2 separate regions of the Homo sapiens genome follow, and region 2 is linked to region 1. The links are contacts of gene promoters, found by promoter capture Hi-C in blood cells and fetal thymus (Javierre and others, 2016). All regions are on one chromosome and are shown on one strand. Each heading gives the region's core, a stretch centred on a gene start or on the middle of the fragment in contact. The rest is flanking DNA. Distances are from core to core; before and after follow the strand shown.

The links. The method cuts DNA at HindIII sites, captures the fragments that hold promoters and counts their contacts. A CHiCAGO score of 5 or more calls a contact.
Region 2: a fragment that was not itself captured here is called in contact with the fragment with the promoter of RIOX2 in region 1 in 1 of 17 cell types (activated CD4 T cells); the score reaches 6.7 in activated CD4 T cells.

What each region holds. Positions count from the first base shown.
Region 1 is chr3:97,970,841-97,974,836 of GRCh38, forward strand. RIOX2 (ribosomal oxygenase 2) reads right to left here and starts at 1,591. Exons shown (of 10, transcript NM_153182.4): 1 at 1,541-1,591. It overlaps LOC124909398 (a long non-coding RNA gene), which reads left to right and starts at 1,813. Exons shown (of 2, transcript XR_007095976.1): 1 at 1,813-2,970. RefSeq lists an enhancer at 806-1,065 and a silencer at 1,336-1,775. The HindIII fragment of the contact is 3,966 bases long and covers 782-3,996 here.
Region 2 is chr3:100,718,252-100,722,562 of GRCh38, forward strand. It overlaps TFG (trafficking from ER to golgi regulator), which reads left to right. Exons shown (of 8, transcript NM_006070.6): 3 at 1,724-1,807. Among named protein-coding and RNA genes, the nearest start is that of TFG, 11 kb to the left of the region's middle. The HindIII fragment of the contact is 1,281 bases long and covers 1,960-3,240 here.

The DNA of each region.
Region 1 (3,996 bases), core at 341-2,840:
GTCACTATATTTTAAAGGTACCCTAACCTCCTTTTCTATAATATTTGAGGACATGAAGACGTGAGGAAGCTCTTGAAGGAAAGGATTTGTATATCCCCGGAAACAAGCACGGTGTGGTACATAGGAGGTCCTCAAGAAATGTCTGCTGAATTTTTCACATTTTCATCTTTTGTCTGTATACAATTTTGGAGACAAACCACAAAGGCCTTACACAAAACAGTTACGGAAAAAACAGATGGCCTGTGCAGAGGGGATTATTTTTCTGATTGCAGCTGTCACTTCAGGATTCAAGAGTATCGTAAAAGCTAAAAGGCACTTTAGACATCAGTAGTTATTACTAAATCGGGGAGGGAAGTATGAATTTCTACATCCCCTGGGCAGTTTTACAGAATGTAGTTCAGAGTTACCAGCAAGGTTGTTAGCATGCAAATTTCTGGGCCCTCATCAAGCCCACTGGATTGCCACTTCTGATGGCTGAGGCCCATAATCTGCATTAACGTAATACGCTCTCTAGATGAATTTTAGGTCCACTAATGGAGGACAACAGTCAAACGCAGCTCAGTTAAACACACGGCTGTCAGAAATTATATATTGCTTGTAACAAGGTTGCCCAGACTGATCTAAAACATTTCTTTTTGGCTCAGAGATATGTTAATCAATCCAGAGGGAAAACTGGTTCTCCTATTGACCTAAAGGAGTGATCAGCAGTTATCTTTTTAGTCTGATTTTAGAGAGGAAACGGACTATACCTCAATGTATTTTCGTGACCATGAGGTTACAAAGCTTGATGTCCAGGAGGCAAAAACCAGTACCAGCAGAAGAAGCTGAGTAAATCAGGTTCCTCTGCTCAAAGATGAGCCCAGTGACATGAAACCCGAGGCACCAGATTTACAGCTAATGAGTGGCGAAATCAGATCCTCTTCCTCCCAGTCTATCCTTCCTGAAAACAGTGAATAACCTGGTCTCAGTAACCTGTTGGACAACCCAGCTGTCGGCCAATCGTTGCGGAATTATTTGCTGGTAAATGAATTGGAAGCATATGATGTAATGCAGCTGCCCTTCTCCCCACACACCTGAACTTCAGATTTCACAGCTGTAGAGCGTGTCTCTTAGGCCCGACATGACGCCCGGCGGCGCAGCCCACGTGGAAGCCGTGCTCGCACAGGCAGTTCTGCCACCACCGGGCGGAGGCCGGCACCACCCTCCTTGCTAAGCCTCCAAACTTTCCGTGCGCTCGTCACCGGTGTCGCGACCATTAGCAGGCCACGTGTGCGACTCTCTGTAACCAAGGCTTCCGCGACCCTACCCCTAGATCCGGGCCCCACCCACCCTGCCCCAGTCTCCGGGGAGGTGGGACGCCTGGGAGCGCGTCCCAGGTCCCGCAACCACAGCGCCGGCCACCGAGGCTTCTCGCCGACCGACAGGTCTCCCAGACCCGCACCCGAGCCCGGGTGCCTAAAGCAGCAGCGCGCGCCCCGCGGGATCGGGCACTACCCGGCCTGCCCCGGCGCTGGGATGCCCACGAGAGCGCCCCACTCACCCGGCACGGCCTGTTGCTCGCGGCCGCGAGCCCACTGCGTTGCGGCGCAGCGGCTGGAGGCGGGGCAGCGTGGGCACGCTCCGGGCCGTGCTCCAGCCCCCGCCCCGCCCCGCCACGCCGGCCCGCAAGTGGTGGCAGCCCGGAGGCCTGGCTACCCGGCGGTGTTCCGCGTTCACGCCCGGGCGTTTCTTTAGTCCATATGGAAGGAAATAAATGGCCTTTTTTTTCCTCTTTTTTTTTTTTTTTTTTTTTTTTTTTTTTTTTTTATGGTATGTGAGACAAGGTCTCACTCTCGCCCAGGCTGGAGTGCAGTGGTAGCGATCTTGGCTCACTGCAACCTTTACCTCCCGGGCTCAAGCGATCCTCCTGCCTCGGCCTCCCAAAGTGCTGGATTATAGGTGTGAGCCACCCACCCGGCTCTCCTTTTTTTTCTTTTAACTTGGGGCGGCAGGAGAGGATTTGAGAGAGCGTTTTGGTGCAACTCCGTTCCTTTTATGAATAGAGAAGCAGGCCTGAAGAGGAATACCAGCGGTGCAAGTTTAGGGAGTTGGTGGTCCGGGTTCTCCCATGGCTTTCTTATGGGCTGTGTGGCTACACAATGCTGATTTGTACAAGCCGAGTGTCATTTATATCATCTCGCTCCGGGAGAGAGAGTCAATCCTAGTTTTAAAAGATACTGGAAATTCGTTGCGACTATGGCTATAGAAACAGAAGAAATGCAGTTATCTGAGTCCTTTCAGCCTAACACTCCCTGCTTTGGAACATTTGGTTCCAGTCAGGAGGCACAAATGAGGGAGCAGGGAAATCAGTGGCGGGCCTGTGCCTTTCTTTGCTCTGTAGACAGCCAGAGGACCCAGAGGAAGTCGACATTTCGTTCCGTCAAGGTGACTGAGACCAGTGGCTGCTTCTAAGGATCAAGTGGCACATGAACAAATGGGAACAAAGTACACCCTTGTCTAGTATTTGTCTAAAACTAACAATAATAGCAAGTCTTGAATTGAGTTCTTCCTGGCTATAAGGCACCACGCTAGGTGTTTCAAATACTCCTCACTTCATCCTCACTACAACCTTGCAATTACCTCCATTTTACAGTTGAGGAAACTGAGTCAGGAGAGGTTAACTAACTTGCACAAGATCACACAGCTAGGAAGATGCAGAAACAAGATTAGAGCCAAACCAGTCAGTCAACTGTTGGTCTTTTTCACGTTTTACTAATACTCGTATAACTAGTAAGTTTCCTGGCAGGTTCCAGTTGGAAAAACTCGAGGGTAACATCAAATTTAGCCCTTACAGGGTAAAAAAGAATAGTCAACAGCAAAAATCTCTAGTTGATATGATATTGGTAATGTACTTCGCTCTTTATTTTGACTGCAAGACATCTACTCAAGATAATATAGAATAATATTGCTGTTCCCGGGATTCAGATAAAGGTAAATTCTCACACGTCCACCACTTGGAAAAGCAGTACGGTTGTAGAAAAAAGTTATAATGTCAACACAAAATACCATTTTCTCAGCATATAAAATGGCCGCAGGATGTCTAACAGAACAAAAGTACATATGGAAGTCAGCTTTGCAGGGGGAAATCATACATCTTGTGTAGGAGTTCCTCTAATGCAAAATTAGTATATCAGTATGTTCTCTCTGATTTTTTTCATTATAATTCCGATTTCTTAGCATAGCAAGCAAAAAAGTCATGATAGTTCCATTTTCAGACCTAAACAGTGCCCATCATTCCTGTGAAGAAAAGGAGAAGGGGCCAGGTGCGGTAGCTCACGCCTATAATCCCAGGACTTTGGGAGGCTGACGCCGGTGGATCACCCGAGGTCAGGAGTTCAAGACCACCCTGGCCAACATGGTGAAACCCCCGTCTCTAACAAAAATACAAAAAAATTACTCAAGCATGGTGGTGCCTGCCTGTAATCCCAGCTACTCAGGAGGCTGAGGCAGGAGAATTGGTTGAACCAGGGAGGCGGGGTTGCAGTGAGCTGAGATTGCACCACTGCACTCCAGCTTGGGCAACAAGAGCAAAACTCTGTTTCGGAAAAGAAAAAGAAAAAGAGAAGGAAAGTTAGTTTGTGCTTGGGTGACAAGAGCGAAATTCCGTCTAAAGGAAGGAAAGAAGGAAGGGGCGGGGAGGGAGGGAGGAAGGGGGAGGGAGGGAAGGAGGTAGGGGAGGAAGTAAGGGTGTGGTGGGATGGTATGGGAGTGGAGAATGGCTTGCAACCTTGCCTGAGAGGAGGAAGAGGAGGTGAGGAAGTAAGGGTGGCATGGGATGGGAGTGGAGAATGGTCTGCAACCTTGCCTGGGAGGCTTCTAGAATATATGGCCTTCCTACATGTATTGTTTCTGGTATTTTTTTTTTTTTTGGAAAAGTTCTTCCAGAGGACAAGATGCAGACTGCTATCCAGTCCCCACCATAGGTTCATTTAAAAGTCAGTTATTTTGTTTCTGTAA
Region 2 (4,311 bases), core at 1,350-3,849, 2.7 Mb after region 1:
AGATGCTTTGCCTTTATCTCAAACTGACCTCATTGACTGGCTTTCTCTTAACTACTGTTTAGGGCAAAGGTCAGCAAACATTTTCTTTAATAGATCAGAGAGAATAAATATTGTAGCTTTGTGGGTCACATAAGGCCTCTGTCTCATCTTTTTTTTACAATGTAAAAACCATTTTTCATTCACAGACCTATAACAACACAGGGATTTTGTCCGTTGGTCACAGTTCATGGACCCTTAGCTTGAGGTGTCCTCGTTGTAGTTTGTCTTCCACATTTAGTTACAACTTTGTATTTCATGGTTTTTTTTTTTTTTTTTTTTTTTTTTGAGACAAAGTCTTGCTTTGTCGTTTAGGCTGGAGTACAGTGGGGTGATCTTGGCTCACTGCAGCCTCCACATCCCAGGTTCAAGTGATTCTCCTGCCTCGGCCTCCCAAGTAGCTGGAATTATAGGCACACACCACCACACTCGGCTGATTTTTGTATTTTTAGTAGAGACGGAGTTTCTCCATGTTGGCCAGGCTGGTCTCGAACTCCTGACCTCAGGTGATCCGCCCACCTCAGCCTCCCAAACTGCTGGGATTACAGGTGTGAGCCACCGCACTTGGCCAAAAAGTTTTTGATTGTTTTGATTTGTGTCCGTTAGATTCTGTTAGTAGAGTGGAGGGATGGCTTAGGTAAAGTTCCTGCCATCAGAGATACTCTGTTTCTGTTGTAGGATTCAGAAAAGAAAAAAAGAACAGGAAGTTTTCTTCTTTTACATACATACTTTATTTTCTTTAAAAAATGTGTTTATGAAAATTGAACATTAAACAAGTATGTTATGGGAAGTGGGTCTGGCTATAAGGAGCTAAAAACAGTTATAAAATTCTCAGTTTTGTCATCTTTGCCCAAAATAAATCCAACTAATTAGTGTTAAAGTAGGTGCAGCAGAGCATCCCAGAAGTAGTCTTGTGGCCTCCCCAGGACAGAACTCCTCCCCACCCAACTGTTTGTGAAGACACCCTGCAGAGGTCCCTGATGAACTCCTTGTCTCTGGCTGCTTTTCTGTTCTTGCTTTCTTTAGAGAATGTATTTTTCCCTTAGCCCTTTGAAAGCTTTTGAGACACACAGTTGGTATGCCAATTATAGCATTCTTTATCCCTGAGATCTGGGGGATTTCACGGTCATAAATACACACTGTTTTGAATATATAAATATTTTTCTGGGGAGAGTTGATTGTTTTCATCTTAATATCAAAATGGTCAGTGACCTGAAAGAATTTACTGTCTATCCATTCATTAAAGCAGTTTTGCAACAGTAGTGTTTTACTCTACCTATGATTAAGATTTGAACTTTGGGAAACTTTTTTATTTCTTGGTAAAAGATGTAAATTTTTTGGAATGAAAAGATTTCAGTCTAAACCAACAATTTATGATATTGCTCTCTATGAATCTCTTACTAGTGACTAATAAATATTAAGGCACTTAATGGATTCACTTTAGCTGTATTTTTTCATGTGGATATGTGTAAATACCTTGCCATAAGAGTAATAAGCAAAATTGATTTAGTATATTTTTGAACAAATGCATTTTTGCTAGACCTTTAAAGTTTAAGGTTTCTATGGGAGAGTCCAACTATGTTCTACAATCTACATTTTGGATTTTTAATTTTTACTAGTTTACTGCTTATACAAATCTGAAAATTTAAAAAATTAAAAAACAACCTTTTTTTTTTTTAAATTCCAGATGGAGATCTTATAACAATTTTTGATAGTTCTGACCTTTCCTTTGCAATTCAGTGCAGTAGGATACTGAAACTGACATTATTTGGTGAGTAGTAAACTTTCTAATGAATTTACTATTTTATTCATTGTATTTTAAAGATGTTTGGCTTTTTTCCTTTTAAAGACTCAGGTAAGCAATAACTTATTCAAATATTATTACATTTATTTGTGTTCAGGTAGTTGTTTTAGATTACTTGAAGCTTATGGCTGTGTATGTTTTTAAGAAAATGATAGAAGTTTAATTCAGTAAGAACAGAGTGTTAAGTATGTTTTTTTTGAAATCAGGTATAACTTAGGTATCCCTGGTGCAGTATTATAGTTTTAATTTAGCTGTATTAGAATTTTTAAATTGTAATTATCTTCCTTCACATTACAGTATGTTGTTACTTATTATCAGGGCTTAACATGTAAGTCTGATACTTGAAACCAGTAGTCGCCAACCTTTTTGCACTGGAAACTGGTTTCGTGTAAGACAGTTCTTCTATGGAAGGGGGCAGGAGAAGGTTTGGGGATGAAACTCTTCCACTTTGCATGTGCAATTCACAATAGGGTTCACACTCCTATGTGAATCTAATGCCACTGCTGAACTGACAGGAGGCGGAGCCCACCACTTAACCTCCTGCTGTGCTGCCCAGCCCGGTTTGGTTCCTAACAGGCCACAGAGTAGCACTGGGTTGGGGACCCTTGCTTTAGACAGTATTTCCCGAGGGGTACTTAAAGATTAAAAATAGTTCTGATAAAAACCAATAGAAGACTAATTTTAATCTTTTAGATTTTTTCTTTTAGATCTTAATAGATATGCAAGGCAGAACTCTTAAGGGACAAGATAGAAAAGATTACAGAGTTAAATGGTAGTGTGATTATGTGAAAAATAAAATGTGTACACTTTTTCCGGCTGTTTTGTTGTTTTGTTTAGCATTAATTTTATTTTTTTTTAATTTTGTTGCATGAAACTTAGAGTTCAGTGTGAAATATGATCATGGTCTATTGATTTAATTTGTATCTATTTCATCTCCATCTAGGAAGGATGAATATGAATAATCAGAATTTAAATGTTAATAACAAAAACTGTTTAAAATTATTTAAAATAAAGGTATCTTTTTACAGTATTGAATGTAAAATACTTAACTATTGACTAGGCATAAAGCAGATTAGATAATCTGAAGACCCTTACTTTAAACAGGATCTGCTAGATAAACTTACAAATGTGTTTTCTGAATTCTGTAACTCAGCTTGCACAGGAAAGTAAGGGAAATATCCAGGGAACAAAAAAGTAGAGGGAACTAAAGGCCTGATGTACCAAAAGCTGAAACTTGGGGTGTTCTTGGTGGTGATAGTAGAGATTTTAGCCTGCATAATTTAAGGAATTGCCATCTGGTGTCTACATGGTGTAGGCCCTTGGTCCTAGTCCCTCAGTAGGCCATGCTTTCAAAAAGAATATTTTAGAAAAGTCTACCTTGATACAGGGAAAGTCAAGGAAGCTTAACTCTTATACCTTGGGCCGTCAGGGGCTTGGGAAGTCTCCCTTCAGGATTCATAATTGTGGTCCTTAGGTGAGTTGGGTTTAAATTTAAACTATCCATGTAGTTTGGTAACTCCCAAGCCCAGATGTTACCATTTTAGAAAAATCTCAGAAGAAAGGCCAAAATCTCTCTTGAGGGGTATATTCTCAATCCAGGTCACATAGGTTTCTCACAGACAAAACCGTAAGACACATGAAGCTGTCAGGTAAGCAAGAACCACTGGACACAACTAATAGCAGGATTAGATTTTCAACAACTTCAGTTAAGATATGTGATAGTCTACAAAATTAAAAGTTATTTAAGACATAGAAGAAGGAATAAGAATATAAAAGCAGCCGGCCGTGGTGGCTCACGCCTGTAATTCCAGCACTTTGGGAGGCCAAGGCGGGCGGATTGCCTGAGTGCAGGAGTTCGCGACCAGCCTGAGCAACACGGTAAAACCCTATCTCTACTGAAATGCAAAAAATTAGCCAGCTGTAGTGGTGTGTGCCTGTAGTCCCAGCTACTTGAGAGGCTGAGGCAGGAGAATTGCTTGAACCTGGGAGGTGGAGGTTGCAGTGAGTCGAGATCGCGCCACTGCACTCCAGCCTGGGTGACAGAGTGAGACTCCATCTCAGAAAAAACAAAACAAAACGAGAACATAAGAGCAAGATGCTATTGTATTATGGAAAAACAATAAACAGATTTTATAAAGAACTTAAAGTAACTTGGAAATGAGAAATATAATCATTGAAATTAAATACTAAGTGGATAGGTTAAACACATTAGTCATAGCTAAAAAGAGAATTAGTGAACTGAAAAGGAAATCCAAAGAAATTACAGAGTAAAGCACAAAAACACAGGCAAAAGAGAAGTTGAAAATGAGAACATCCAGAATATTTCTATTCAGAGTTTCAAGAAGGAGAGAATGGGAGAGTGGAAATACATTGAGGTAATGACTAAAGAAATTTTCAGAGTTATATAAAAGCTATAGACCCTCAGATTCAGAAGGCACGGGGAGCCTTGAGCAGGGATAAGTAAAAGTAAA